4 separate regions of the Homo sapiens genome follow, and all the other regions are linked to region 3. Evidence: promoter capture Hi-C in human tissues and cell types (Jung and others, 2019). All regions are on one chromosome and are shown on one strand. The core of a region is centred on a gene start or on the middle of the fragment in contact, and the rest is flanking DNA. Distances in the headings are between cores, read along the strand shown. Region 1 holds the start of NFIC (nuclear factor I C). Region 2 holds the start of FSTL3 (follistatin like 3). Region 3 holds the start of LINGO3 (leucine rich repeat and Ig domain containing 3). Region 4 holds the start of GIPC3 (GIPC PDZ domain containing family member 3).

The links. The method cuts DNA at HindIII sites, captures the fragments that hold promoters and counts their contacts. A contact is called where the count stands out against the background at its distance.
Region 1: a contact is called between the fragment with the promoter of NFIC here and the fragment with the promoter of LINGO3 in region 3, in 1 of the 25 tissues and cell types used here (stomach).
Region 2: a contact is called between the fragment with the promoter of FSTL3 here and the fragment with the promoter of LINGO3 in region 3, in 1 of the 25 tissues and cell types used here (heart left ventricle).
Region 4: a contact is called between the fragment with the promoter of GIPC3 here and the fragment with the promoter of LINGO3 in region 3, in 1 of the 25 tissues and cell types used here (aorta).

Annotation. Positions count from the first base shown.
Region 1 is chr19:3,365,225-3,368,489 of GRCh38, reverse strand. NFIC (nuclear factor I C) reads right to left here and starts at 1,907. Exons shown (of 11, transcript NM_001245002.2): 1 at 1,824-1,907. The coding sequence starts at 1,853. RefSeq lists silencers at 899-1,298, 1,589-1,738, 2,189-2,278. The HindIII fragment of the contact is 27,364 bases long and covers 1-3,265 here.
Region 2 is chr19:674,665-677,804 of GRCh38, reverse strand. It overlaps FSTL3 (follistatin like 3), which reads right to left and starts at 1,413. Exons shown (of 5, transcript NM_005860.3): 1 at 1,279-1,413; 2 at 1-13. The coding sequence starts at 1,381. The HindIII fragment of the contact is 14,894 bases long and covers 1-3,140 here.
Region 3 is chr19:2,306,847-2,310,451 of GRCh38, reverse strand. LINGO3 (leucine rich repeat and Ig domain containing 3) reads left to right here and starts at 2,298. Exons shown (of 2, transcript NM_001101391.3): 1 at 2,298-2,376. The HindIII fragment of the contact is 18,961 bases long and covers 1-3,605 here.
Region 4 is chr19:3,584,107-3,587,383 of GRCh38, reverse strand. GIPC3 (GIPC PDZ domain containing family member 3) reads right to left here and starts at 1,906. Exons shown (of 6, transcript NM_133261.3): 1 at 1,562-1,906; 2 at 704-889; 3 at 390-570. The coding sequence starts at 1,786. The HindIII fragment of the contact is 10,668 bases long and covers 1-3,277 here.

The DNA.
Region 1 (3,265 bases), core at 658-3,157, 1.1 Mb before region 3:
ATAGTTTTTAGTTTTTAGCCTCTCCGTTTTTTGGTTTCCACAGACAGCCCTCCTGGCTGGTCCTTGCCCTGTTCCTGGAGAAACTGAGGCCGAGTTAGCAATTCTCTGAGGCAAAGCCTGGACTGGGGTTCTTACTAACCCCCAACCCACCCCAGCAACCAGGATGTCTCCCAACCAGCCCTGATGGGGGAATTCCAGGGTGCACAGGCAGCCTTCCAACCTCCCCAGCCTGGAACAGCCTCCCCTCCGCTCAGCCCTCCCAAATGGCTCCTTCCAGCTGGTGAGGACAGAGCGGGGACACCTCAGTCACCCCACAAGCCCAGAGACTTCAAAGGCTGCCCGAGGTCACACAGCGTGCCCACTCGAACCCTAGTTGTTCTTGGAGAACTTCAAAGAGATGCCTTCTTCGGGAACCCCCCCCCCAAAGCTGCTCAGAAAGGGAAACTGAGGCTGGGACAGGGACTTACCCAAGGTCACTCAGGGGATCACAGGTAGGACAGACCTCAGACCCCCTCAGCACCAGCTCCCACATTCCCTGTCGGCTGCAGGGGGCCGGTGAGAAAGACCCTACCAAGGAGCATGCCTGGCGTGGGGGGTCCCTCACTGCACCATGCCCTGGAGCGGAAGCCGGGGACTCATATACTCCCCACACAGTGCTTCTTAAGACGGGCCTGGCCCTCGCTGGAATCGCACCCCCCACGTGCCGGGACTTTACAGTTTGCCCGCCATACTGTCCCCTCTCCAGAACCGGCCTTAGCCGCACCTCACTTCAGGGGAAACTGAGGCCAGAACCTCTCCAGCCTAAAGACACACTGCGTAAGGAGGAAAGCAGCGGTCTAGAAAACGGAACTTGCAGACCTCGGGGTCCCCGGGAGCCTGGGCTGGAAGGAGTCCCCGGGGGGAGCCGCCCCCTCCCCACACACCCCCTCGGCCATTGCACAAGGCTCGGCCCCGGGGCAGTCTGGGAGTGCGGCCAGGGGTGAGAGGCTACGGGAGGGGGAGGGGGAGGGGGAGGGGACGGGGCAGGTGCCGGGCTGGCGAGGGCGTCCGCAGCGCCGCAGTGCCCGGGCCAGACCCGGAGCGCCGGGCCTCCCGCTCCTCCCGGCGGCGGCTCCAGAATCCAGAATCCAGAATCCAGAATCGATGCAGCGAAAATACCGGGACGGTGCTGGGGGGCTTGCAAAGGAGGGGGGACCCAGCCGGGCCGCCGGAGCACCCTTCCCCCTCCTGGGCCTCCAACTTCTCCTGCCCCCTCCCCCTCCATGCACACGTGGGCCAATAACGAGGGAAAGGCGACCGAGGGCCAGGGCGGCCCGCACAACCTTGGTGGGGGGACACGGGGAAAACACATGAGAGGTCCCTTTCTCTCCAGCTGGGGAGACCCAGGGTCCAATCACGACCCCCTAGATTCCTCTCAGAGGCAGGCGGGGGGCTTCCCGCAGAGCCCTTGCTGGAGGGGGGCCAGCCCCCACCCCGACCTTTCCGAGTGTCGGGGCGGGGGTGCGGAGTGCGTCGGTGTGTGGGGGGGGGACGCAAATCTGCAGACCAAGCCCCACATCCGGGAGAGGTCCCGAGAGTCGGGGTTGGGGGTGCTGGGCGGGAGTCCCGCGTAGGGGGTCCGCGGTAGGTAAGGGTGTGGGGGGGGTACCCCAGCCTGACCCATCCCCCCACCGGACCCCAGCCCTCGGCGCGGGGGGCATCCCGGGCAGGGATGGCGGGAGGGACGCGCGCCTTTTTCGTCCCGCCTCCTCCTGCTTCAAAACTCCGGGGCTGGGATGCGGGGGGCGCGGGGGCGCCGGCGGGGGGCCGGGCGAGGACCGTACCTGGGTGAGGCAGAGCGGGGACGAATACATCCCGGGCGCGGCGGGAGGCGCAGGGCCGGCCGGAGCGGGCGCGCTGAACTTACTGAGTCATTTTTCCAAACCACCCCCCCGCCCCCCCCAACCCCCCCCCCCGCCCCGCGGCCGGCGCGCTCTCCTCGCCGCCTCCTCCCTCGGTCTCCCTCCTCCTCCCTCCTGCTCTCCCTCTCTCGCGCCGCCCGCCTCGCTCTCTGTCCCTCTCTCCCTCCGTCTCTCTCTTCCTCTCTCCCCCGTCTCTGTCTCTCTGTCTCTCTCTCTACCCTCTGACACCCTCCCCCTCCCACCCCGAACCTCCCACTTCTCAACACCCAACTTTCAAAGAAACGAGGGAAAAAAGGGCGCGAGCGAGAAAGGAGAGCCTCCCCCGACGTCTCAGGACCCCCCCGCTCCTCCCGTATTTACGCAATGCCCCAGGGCACTAGACCAGGACCCCAGGACTGCAGGGCGACCCCAATTCGGATCAAGCGGAGAGGGGGGACAGGGTTGTTTCTGGACATTGAGGGGCCAGGGGTGGATTTTTAAGGCCCCCCCTCCCCACCCCCCCATCACCCCCGAGCTGGCCGGGAAGTTGGAGGAAAGAGCCAGGGGGGAGGGAAGGAATGAAGAAGTGACGTGCGCAGAGGCCGGCCAGCGCGCCTCTTTCCCCTTAAAGATGTACGACCCTGGGTGCACGGTGAGCTGGTCCCACAGCACCCTGGCTCCCTTCTCCCCCCAGAGCCAGGCAGGGGCTGCGGGTCCCCAGCTAGAGGGGCTTGTGTGCAGCTGTCCCTTCCTTGGCCAGAAGGGCCCAGGCTAACACGGGAGGCTCCAGAATTTGCTCTCTTCACCCAGCACCCAAGGGGCAGGGGAGGGGTGGCCTCGCCTGTGTGTCTCTCCAGCACCCCAGGAGGACGGTGTCCAGGCGGGATCTCCAGCTGGCCAGATAAACCCTTGCAGCCTCCCCCTGGGTATCCAATAATTTCCACCTGCCTCAGGGGTGTGCCCTTTTCACAGATCTCAAGACTGAGGTATGGCAAGTGTGGCTTGGAGCCAGGCCATCTGGACCTGGAGCCCACATTCTGTTCTCCTTCTAGACGTAACAGGGCAGAGACCTGGCCTGCCTCCGTCTGAGCCCCCAGGGCATCTGATGACAGGGCCCCAACCCTCCCCCGGTTCACTCCCTGGATCCTCCCAGGCTAGCTCAGAGGCTGCTGTGTCTCTCATTCCCATCCCAAGGGTTCTCCCCTATAAAGTGGCTTAAAGATGCCCATCCTGTGGGATTGCTGGGGATAAGGACAATGACCTTAGCAGAGCCTTGACCTTGGGTCAAATGTTCACTAAAGACACATTCTTAGAAAGCTTGGCCATTTCACCTCATCTCTCTGAGCTTCCCAAGGACAAATGATACCCTCTCACCAAGCTGGGGC
Region 2 (3,140 bases), core at 164-2,663, 1.6 Mb after region 3:
CAGCAAACACCACCTGCGGGCCGGGGAACGGGGTGCTCTCCTGGGCCACTCCTGACACCCAGCTTCTGGCCCGCCCACAGATGCATGCAGGTGGTGCTGAGTAGTTACGCACGGAATGATCTACCCCCACCCAGGAAGAAGGGGCAGAAAACCACATGGGTGTCCCCACCCTGGCTCCAGAACCCTGGAAATGTCTCCTCCCCTCTGAGCTCCACGTGCCCCCCCCCACAGCCTCACCACCAACCCCCACCCACCCCAGGAGGTCCCTTCCCGTACCCTCCAAGCCCCCAGGCCAGGGGCTGGCACCCTGCCCAACCCCTCAAACACCACCAAACACCAGGCACTGGGCATGTCAGGGTCAGCAGGCCCTGGAGCCGCTTCTCCCGCCTCTGCCCTCTGTCTAGACAGCACCCGAGGGCGAGGGCACGCGGAGCCCCGCGCCTGGCAGCCCCCCCACCGCCTGGCCCGCCTCTTACTCACTCCAACTTGGGAACATTCCCCTTGCATGAGCTCACTGTCTCCCCAGGGACGTGGCCTTCGGGGAGGGGGCTCTGCTCTCCCTTTGGCGCAGGGCTGGGGTGGGGTGGGGCTGCAGGGATGGGGGGTGGGGAGCCAGAGAGCCCCCCATTTCTTCCCCCGTCCCTGGGGGCAGGAACGGCCACAGCCCCCATCCCAGAGCGCTTGCTGGTTCACAGACACTGCCAGGGACCAGCTTGTGGAACGCAGCACCTTGGCACCCATCATAGGAGGGGAAACTGAGGCCAGGAGTGGGGCCGTCTCCTGCCTGGCACCTCCCGGCAAGTCCCAGGTGTGAGACTCCATGCCCCGTCTACCCAGGACCCGGGAAAGCTCTCAGCCCCAGCTGGAGGGCCTGGCTCCCGACACCCAGCACTACCTCTCGGCACCAGGACCGACCCGGACGGTCGCGGCTAGAACCCTGGCTTTGCCTGCTACAGGCTGTGTGACCCTGAGCCTCAGTTTCCCCATCTGGAAGACGGAGATGAAGAGAGCTCCGGCACTATCGGGATGGCACAGGTTCAGGGAGGGGAGAGGTAGACACTAAGCGCTCAATAAATGTCAGCGGTCATTGTGATTAGAAACCTCTGCTCTGCTGACCTCTTGGTGACCCTCCTTCAGACCTTCCCGGCTCCAGCTTGCGCCGGACACCGCCCTCGCCCCCGCCGCCGCCGCCGCGCCCCCCGACGTCCCCCCGGCCGCATTCCGCGCAGCCCCACGTGGGTGGCCCGCCCCGCCCGCCCCTCTGGCCGCCCCACTCACCGGGCGCGGGGTTCCCCGAGCCCATGGAGCTCACGAAGCCCACGGCCCAAGCCAGGGCCCCCCAGGGCAGAGGCCAGAGTGGCCCTGGCGCCCCGGGACGCATGGCGAACGCAGAGACGGCAGCGGCACCGACTTCCCAGCGCGCGGCCGGCGCTCCCTATAAAGGTCCCGCGGGCCGCGGGCGGGGCGGGGCGCGGGGCGGGGCGCGGCGCGGGAGTGGCGGGGGCGAGGCCGTGTCCCGCGCGGGGTGGGCAGGCGCCGGGCCCGGCCGCTGCGGGGGGCAGTTGGGGGCGAGCGCCCGGGTCCCCTTCCGGAGCCAGAGAATGCATTTGGGGAGATGTGGCTGGACCCAGGGCGGAACCGGGACAGGGGTGTGGGTTCGAGGTGGTGGCAGCCTTTTGGGTGGATCGAGGGGCCGTCTCCAGGAATTAAAGTGGGTTTGGGGGTCTTCAGTTTCAGGGGTGGCGGTGAGGTAACGGGGACCCAAGAGGAGCACGTCTGTGGATCCCTGCATCCCGTTTCTGTGATTTGCATGTGGTCACTTTCATGGTCCAAGTGTGGTCTGAGCCCCCCAACCCGGCCTCCTTGTTCCCGACCCGCCCCACACACCCAAAACCTCAGCTGGATATGGTTCCCTGCTCACAGCGCGGGCCGCGCACCCGTCCACCTGGCCGCTGGAGCCGGCCTGTGGGTGGGGAGTGGTTGGGTGTGGGACAGAACGGGGTGCGGCCGGGACAGACCCAGAGACACAGCTCCTTCCAGCATCTCGGACAACAGCAGGCCTCGCCCAGCCACGGCCCCCAGGGAGGCCACTGCGTGTGTGTGTGTGTGTGTGTGTGTGTGTGCGCGCGCACGCCTGGCCTTTGTCCTGGGCCCCTGGGCAGCTCTGCCCCATCAGCCCTCCAAGCCTTTGCAGACATTCCCCCAGATCACCTCAACAAGAATGTTTACTAGGTTTTTTCCTCTCCCTCCAAGATTCAGCAAACACTGTTTCCAGCAGAGGCGTTTCCAACAATGTATGACAGCGACATCTGCGTGGGCCTGGAGGCGCTGCGCCCGAGGGGGCTTTCGTGCAGCCAGACACATTTCCTACTCTGGAGCTGATTCTGTCATGGGGGCCTCCAGATTTGTCAGGCGCCCTTGGCGAGCGCAGGGGAGCCCCTCTGTTCCTGCTTCTAGGGCATCAGTGAACATCTCTTTTGGCCAGAGGGACCCTGCGGGGTGCTGGGGTGCCACGGTGACCAAGGCAGACCCCATCACACCCTCACCGAGCTCCTGGTTTGGACAACAAAATGCAGAGACAAATTAATCTATAACTTCAAGGAGTGGTAAATGCTTTCAGGAAAATACAGAAGGTTGAGGTGGTGGAGAGCGGTTGGGTGTCTGCTGGGCATGCCTGTGTCTGGCCACTCGCTGTGCCGGCATTGCCCACCCCGCAGGTGGAAACGGACGTGTCCAGCAGCCCCACGGCACAGCCCCTTCTCTGGCCTGAGTGAGATCTGTGCCCACAGAAGACACACCTGTACCCTTTCCTCCACCTTAGCTGCCCAGCCTGTGTCCCCCAGCAGCCAGTGGCCAGGGGCCAAGTTCTGCCTTAGTGGCACTGAGGGGGGACACCCCGCCGTCTTGACCTGGCCTTGGCCTCTGGCATTTCCCCCGGGAATCTCCCCGGCTTGGGGAGCAGGGCAGGGACGGGACCCTGTATTCTCACTGAGGGGGGACACCCCGCCGTCTCGACCTGGCCTTGGCCTCTGGCATTTCCCCCGGGAATCTCCCCGGCTTGGGGAGCAGGGCAGGGACGGGACCCTGTGTTCTCACTGAGGGGGGACACCCCGCCGTCTCGACCTGGCCTTGGCCTCTGG
Region 3 (3,605 bases), core at 1,049-3,548:
GACATCCCCCACGGTTACACAGGCAGGGCCTCGACTGGACCCCAGCTGGCATCCCTCACCCTCCAGGACTCATAGCAAGTGTCTCCTCCTCCGGGAAGCCTCCCTGGCCCCTGGCTTCGGTCCGGGACCCGGTGTCACTACTGCCTCTTCCACGCCGCTTTGTGACGATTTCATATTTCAGGCATCTGCTCCCTCTGTCCGAAGAAATCCCCCTTGAGGCTGGAAGCGTCTCCTCCTCCTCCCTCCAGCCCTTGGCCTGGTATACAGTAGGTGCTCAATGAACACCTTCCTCCAAGAGCCCTGAGAGCCAGCTATCAGGAGCATCACTTTACAGAGAAAGAAACACGTTCAGAGAGAGAAGGAGACCTCCCCTACTGGGGTCACACAGCACAGCAGCCCAGGGCCATTTGGTGGGGAGAGCATGGGGTGTCATGAAGTCCTTCTGGACCTCTCTGGGGCCAGGAATTGAACCATACCCGCCCCCCACAGCATCCTGTGGGGGGCCTGGCCTGCAGCCTCCCAGGGATGCGGTTTCTGGGCCTCCAGCCAACGCGACAGTCTGGGAACAGAGCCTGCTTGAGTCACAGGTGGCTGCGTGAGTGCCAGGCCACCGCCAAAGCCACTGGGAATACACAGCTGGTGGGGAGGACTGCAGAGTGGGTGAAGGGGGCAGACAGGGCAAGGTTACACACACAGGTTCCCGAGGCCTCCTTCTCACCCCTCACTTGGGACAAATGGCATCTCCCAGCCTTGGTTTGCTCATCTGTGAGACAGGGAGGCTAAATGTGGCTTTTAGAAGATGCAGTGAGGGGCCGGGCATAGTAGCTCACGTCTGTCATCCCAGCACTTTGGGAGGCCGAGGCGGGTGGATCACCTGAGGTCAGGAGTTCGAGACCAGCCTGGCCAACATGGTGAAACTCTATCTCCCCTAAAAATACAAAAATTAGCCAGGCATGGTCATGGGCGCCTGTAATCCCAGCTACTTGGGAGACTGAGACAGGAGAATCGCCTGAACCCGGGAGGTGGAAGTTGCAGTGAGCCAAGATTGCACCACTGCACTCCAGAATGGGTGACGAGAGCAAAACTCCATTTCAAAAAAAAAAAAAAAAAAAAAAGACAAAAAAAAAGGTAAAAAACTTTCCATGAGCACTCGCAGTGCACTTGGTGTGTGCGCTGCTGTGTGCTAGGCGGAAGGCACATTGGGGAACAAGCCCATTAGACAAACTGAGAGGCTCCAAGCTGCTCGATGGAGGGACAGAGAGAAAGGCTGTCCAAGCTGGGCACAGCGAAGATCAAAGGCCTGGGACTGGAGGGACTTGGCCTGTTTGAGGAAGGCTGAGGGGGTGGAGCCCGGGAAAGAGTGAGTGAGGACAGGCCAGGGGGAAGGAGGTGGTGCGGCAGACCAAACAGTGCAGGCAGCCGGGCGGTGGCTCACACCTGTCATCCCAGCACTTTGGGAGGCCGAGGTGGGTGGATCACCCGAGGTCAGGGGTTTGAGACCAGCCTGGCCAACATGCTGAAAATCCGTCTCTAATAAAAATACAAAAATTAGCCGGGCGTGGTGGCGGGTGCCTGTAATCCCAGCTACTTGGGAGGCTGAGGCAGGAGAATCGCTTGAACCCAGGAGGCGGAGGTTGCAGTGAGCCAAGATGGCACCGCTGTACTCCAGCCTGGGCAACAGAGCAAGACTCCATCTCAAAAAAAAAAAGAAAGAAAGAAAGAAAGAAAGAACGAAAGAAAGAGAAATTCCAGGGTAGGTGGGGTGCAGACGGGACCCTCACGGCAATAGGGAATCACGGCAGGTTCTGGAGCCCAGTGGCTAAGCTTCCTCTGAGGGGCTTCCTCTGAGGGCCACATAAGGAATGGGCCTGGGCTGGGCTGTGGCAGATGTCCAGGTGCAGATGGTGGCGGCCTGGACTAGGGGTGGGGGACGGGGGGCAGAGGAGGCGATGGTAGCTTCCAGAAGGTTCCACACGGAACAACCTGCTGCACTTGGGGTGCCCCTGCGTTTATTGCACGGCACGGCCGTCTCCGCAGGCTCACCCAGGCCGTGGGGACAGGAGGTCCTCGGACACGAAGCGCCCGGGATGCGCACGGAGGGGTTCTGCACCCGCGCTCCCAGTGTCCCCGCACCTGCGCCCACGTGGCCTCTCACACCTGCGGCCCCAGCCGCCGCGCACGCGGCCCAGCGCAGCCCCCGCGCGCCCCCGCCAGGCGCGCCGAGGAGACCGGCGGGCGGTTGCGCGCGGCGGCGGCGCGCACGGCGGAGCCCGGGAGGCGGCGGCGGCGGCGGCGGCGGCGGCGGCGGCTGCTCGTGTCGGCTCCGGGCGGCCCCCGCGCCGCAGCCCGCGCCGTGTCCGCGGCGGAGCCGCCCAGGTGAGTGGCCGTGCCGGGGCCCGGCGTGGGGCGCGCCCGCAGACCTGGGGACCCCTCACCTGCACCCTGCGACCCTGCCGCCCAAAGCCCCCAACCCGCGACCCCATCCTCAGCCGGGGGAAATTGCCCCGCGCACCCCTCCCGGGCTCATCGCTCCTTGCCAGGCCCCCGACGCTCCCCCTGGAAACTTTGGGGGCGAACTCCCCACCCTGGGGCCCCCCGCCCCTCCTCTGGGGCGCCAAGGAGCGGGGAATCGGGTGGGCATCTCCCCGGGGCACTGGGGACGCTGGGAGGATGCGCTCCTCTCCAGGAGGAGATGAAGGGGGCACTGGTTGGGTCTGGGGTGTGGGGAACGTCCGAATAGAGCCTGCAGCCCGCGCCTTCCTGCCCTGTCTCCCCCGAGCCGGGTCTGGTCCAGCCTGGGGGTGCGGAGCTGGAAGACGCAAAGGGTATCTGGGGTCCACACCGGAGCCTGCTCCATCGCTGGAGCTGACGGCCCGGCCTGGCGGGGAGGGACCTGGGGGCATAGGGCTGAGTCCCCCTGCTCTGGGGGCGTCTGAATAGCACCAGAAATGGTGGGCCTGGGCACCCTGAGTGGGTGCCGCCACCTCCCGGGCCTCTGGGGCCTGGCCAGGGGAGGCCCTGAGTCCCATTCAACAAGTTTAGGGGAGCAGCACCTCGTGCCTTGGTCCGGGCACAAGAAAAGCCCCGGGTCCTTACGCTGGAGACCACCATGTAACTGGGTTTCTCAACGTGTGCTTGGGGCGCTAACGGTGCCGGTGTCCCGGCCCCCCCAGTTCTGAGGAGTCAGAACTTCTGAGGCGATGTGCCCCAGAAGCTGCATTTTAGCAAGCGGTCCCTGGCTAAACCATGGACGCAGCGAGGCTGCAGACACCCTTGCTCCGGCGGGGGTGGGGAGCGGGCGTCTGCTGTGCAGTGGTATTTGCAGAGGGACGATCTGGGGCTTGGCTGGGGGGAGCCTTCAGGGACAACAGAGCTGTGAGAACCAGAGCAACCCAGGAGGGCTCCCTGGAAGTGGCCTGGAGAGGATGCAGAAGGTGTGAGGTGTGAGTGGTCAGGTGGAGGACGCAGGCTGGAAACAGGTTCAGGGAGGGTGGTGCTGGCTTTATCAGGAGGCTGGTGTGGGGTGGGCTGCCGCGGCATGGCCTTACCCTGGCTGTTCTCTGAGCCGAAGCAGCAGCCATCGTCGGAGACAGGATCTGAGTGGG
Region 4 (3,277 bases), core at 657-3,156, 1.3 Mb before region 3:
CTTGAACCCGGGAGGTGGAGATTGCAGTGAGCTGAGATCGCGCCATTGCACTCCAGCCCAGGCAACAGAGTGAGACTCCGTCTCAAAAACAAACAAACAAACAAACAAACAAAAACAAGTCTCCCAGCCTGGCTCCAAAGTGGTTCTGGACGCGTCCTCCTCCAACTCCACTTTACCCAGTCTCTCCCCCACCCCTCCCCCACAGGCTGACTCCATAACAATCTATTAATAGAAACTACCTACGAGTTTCTGATACCCTGCCAGGAGCTCCTTGGCACGCAGCGGGTGCACCTAGAACCTTCCAGCCCGTCCCATCCCCGACCCTCCTCCACCCCAGGCATCCGTAGAACGCACTTCGGGAAGAGCTCCCGCCAGCCCACCCGCCTCACCGAAGGCCCTCTTGGGCTGCACCAGGCGCAGGGTGAAGGGCTGGGACTTGGGCAGCTCCCGGAGCATCTTGGCCACCTCGTAGTGGCGGCAGCCCACAATGGAGTGGTCGTTGATGGCTTCGATGCTGTCACCCACGCACACTGCCTCGATCCGGTTGATGATACTGCCTTCCTTGATTCTCTGCAGGGATCCAGCGTCGCTGGCAGGGCAACCCCAGCCACCCGCCTCCAATCCGCAGAACCCACGTCGACCCAGAGTGGGGGGGGCAGTTGCTGGACCCCAGGAAGCCACCCGCCCACCCCCTCCCGGGCACCTTGATGAAGGCGTAGCCAGCCCCGTTGTCCGTGATGGTCAGCCCCAGAGCATCCTCTGTCTTAGTGACCTCCACCTCCTTGGTCTCGCCTCGCACGTGGGCAAAGATGAAGTCCTCCAGGCCTATCTGACCCCCCAGGAGCTTCTGCATGTCCACTTTGTGGCTGTTGAGGGTGCAGAATAAAATCTTCCCGGGGGAGAAGGAGCCTAGAGTTAGCCAGGGCATGCATCCCCCCACGCAGCCACCCTGTCTGCGCAGGCCCCTGCCCCCAGCGACCAGGATCCCAGCCCATGGGAAAGGGCAGGGCGTGGGACCCCCAGAACAGAGAGAGGAGGGAGAAGGAGACTTCCAGCAGGTGGAGACCCCTCTCCATACCCCGGGACCTCCAGCCCCCAGACCTCCAGGTTTAATCTGCTGGCGCCCCCTGGGGGCTGCAAACCAAACGAACCCGGATTGGAAAAACGCCCAGGAACCCCCCAACCCCACGGCGGCCTCAAACTTCCCATCCCTAAGGGGGCCATCTGGAACCCCAGACCCCAGCTACGCCCAGGAAGCACAGAGGCGCTTCCCCGAGGGCTGGGGTCCGCTCCAAGCTAGGTCTGCGCAGAGGATTTTCTGGAATATCTAGGGGTCCGCTAGTCCTAAGACCTGCCCATCTTTTGCGCAGAGCGTGCAAAGGGGGCCCCTGGGAGTGTGGCACCCCGGGATCTGAGGGCTGGGTCTCTGAGATCCGGCGATTAGGCGGCCACCCCGACGTCTGGGATCCGGGGATCTGGGGTCTCCCGTCCAGGGTCCAAGCTCCCTACCCCTCACCCCATCAGGCGGGTGGTCTTGGGCGCCGGTGTCCGGGCTCCTTACCTCGGTGGGCGCGATCCCGAAGGCTTCGGCGATCTTGGCGTACAGCTCGCGGACGTTGGTGAAGCCCTCGATCTTGCCCGTGGGGCTCCCGTGCGCCAGCTGCGTGCGGAAGACGAGGCGCGGGCGGGCGCGGGGCGCGGCCGGGGGCTCCGAGGGCGCGGGCGGGGGCGCAGACGCGCGCGGGGTCTCGGTCCCCCGGGCCTCCCGGGCCGCTGCTCCCTCCATGGCGGGAGAAGTTCGGCCACCCACCCGGGCCCTCGCCGCCGCCGCCGGATCCGCCGCTTCCTGCAGCCTCCCCTCCCCCGGCCCAGGGCGCGACAGCCGAGACGCCCGGGTAAGGGGATCTGGGAACCCGAGCCTCCCGGGAAGGCGACACCGCGGGGTGCGCAGGGGTGGGTCGGGCCCCAGGTGTCCGGGCCCTGCCAGGGCCAGCTGTGCCCTCCCCGGGGATACCCGCAGTCCGGGGGGGCCTGAGCTCAGGACCCTGGAAGAACAGGGACCACAAATAAGGACAGGGACAGGCCTGGAGCGGTGGCTCACGTCTGTAATTCCAGCACTTTGGGAGGCCGAAGCGGGCAGATGACCTGAGGTCAGGAGTTCAAGACTAGCCTGGCCAACATGGTGAAACCCCGTCTCTACCAAAAATACAAAAATCAGCCGGACGTGGTGGCGGGCGCCTGTAATCCCAGCTACTCGGGAGGCTGAGATCTCTTGAACCCGGGAGGCGGAGGTGGCAGTGAGCTGAGATGGCGCCATTACACTCCAGCCTGGGCAACAAAGCGAGACTCCGTCGCAAAAAAAAAAAAAAAAAAAAAAAAAAGGACAGGGACAGCTGAGGGTGCTGGAGCACTCACCCTCTGCTAGGCGAGGTCATTGTTTTATTTTATTTTATTATTTTTATTTATTTATTTATTTTGAGCTGGAGTCTCGCTCTGTCACCCAGTTTGGAGTTCAGTGGCACGATCTCAGCTCACTGCAACCTCTGCCCACCAGGTTCAAGCAATTCTCATGCCTCGGCCTCCCCAGTAGCTGGGATTACAGGCATATACCACCATGCCCGGCTAATTTTTTTGTATTTTTAATAGAGATGAGGTTTCACCATGTTGGCCAGGATGGTCTTGAACTCCTGACCTCAGGAATCCACCCACCTTAGCCTCCAAAAAAGCTGGGATTACAGGCATGAGCCACCACGCCCAGCCTTTGGTTTGTTTGTTTGATTTTGGAGACGGAGTCTAGCTCTGTCGCCCAGGCTGGAGTGCAATGGCGTGATCTCGGCTCACTGCAACCTCCACCTCCTGGGTTCAAGCGATTCTCCTGCCTCAGCCCCCCTAGTAGCTGGGATTATAGGCGCACACCACCATGCCTGGCTAATTTTTGTATTTTTTAGTAGAGACAGGGTTTCACCATGTTGGTCAGGCTTGTCTCGAACCCCTGACCTCAGGTGATCCACCTGCCTTGGCCTCCCAAAGTGCTGGGATTACAGGCGTGAACCACCGCACCCGGCCGCATTCAGTTTTTTAAAATTTAATTTAGAAACATGATTAATTTTTTGTACAGTTGGGATCTCACTGTGTTGCCCAGGCTGGTCTCAAACTCAAGACCAGGAGGTTCAGGCCATCCTTCAGCCTTGGCCTCCCAAAGTGCTAGGATTACAGATGTGAGCCACTGTGCCCAGCTTCTCTTCAGCATTTAAAGCTACCATCTGACATATCAGAT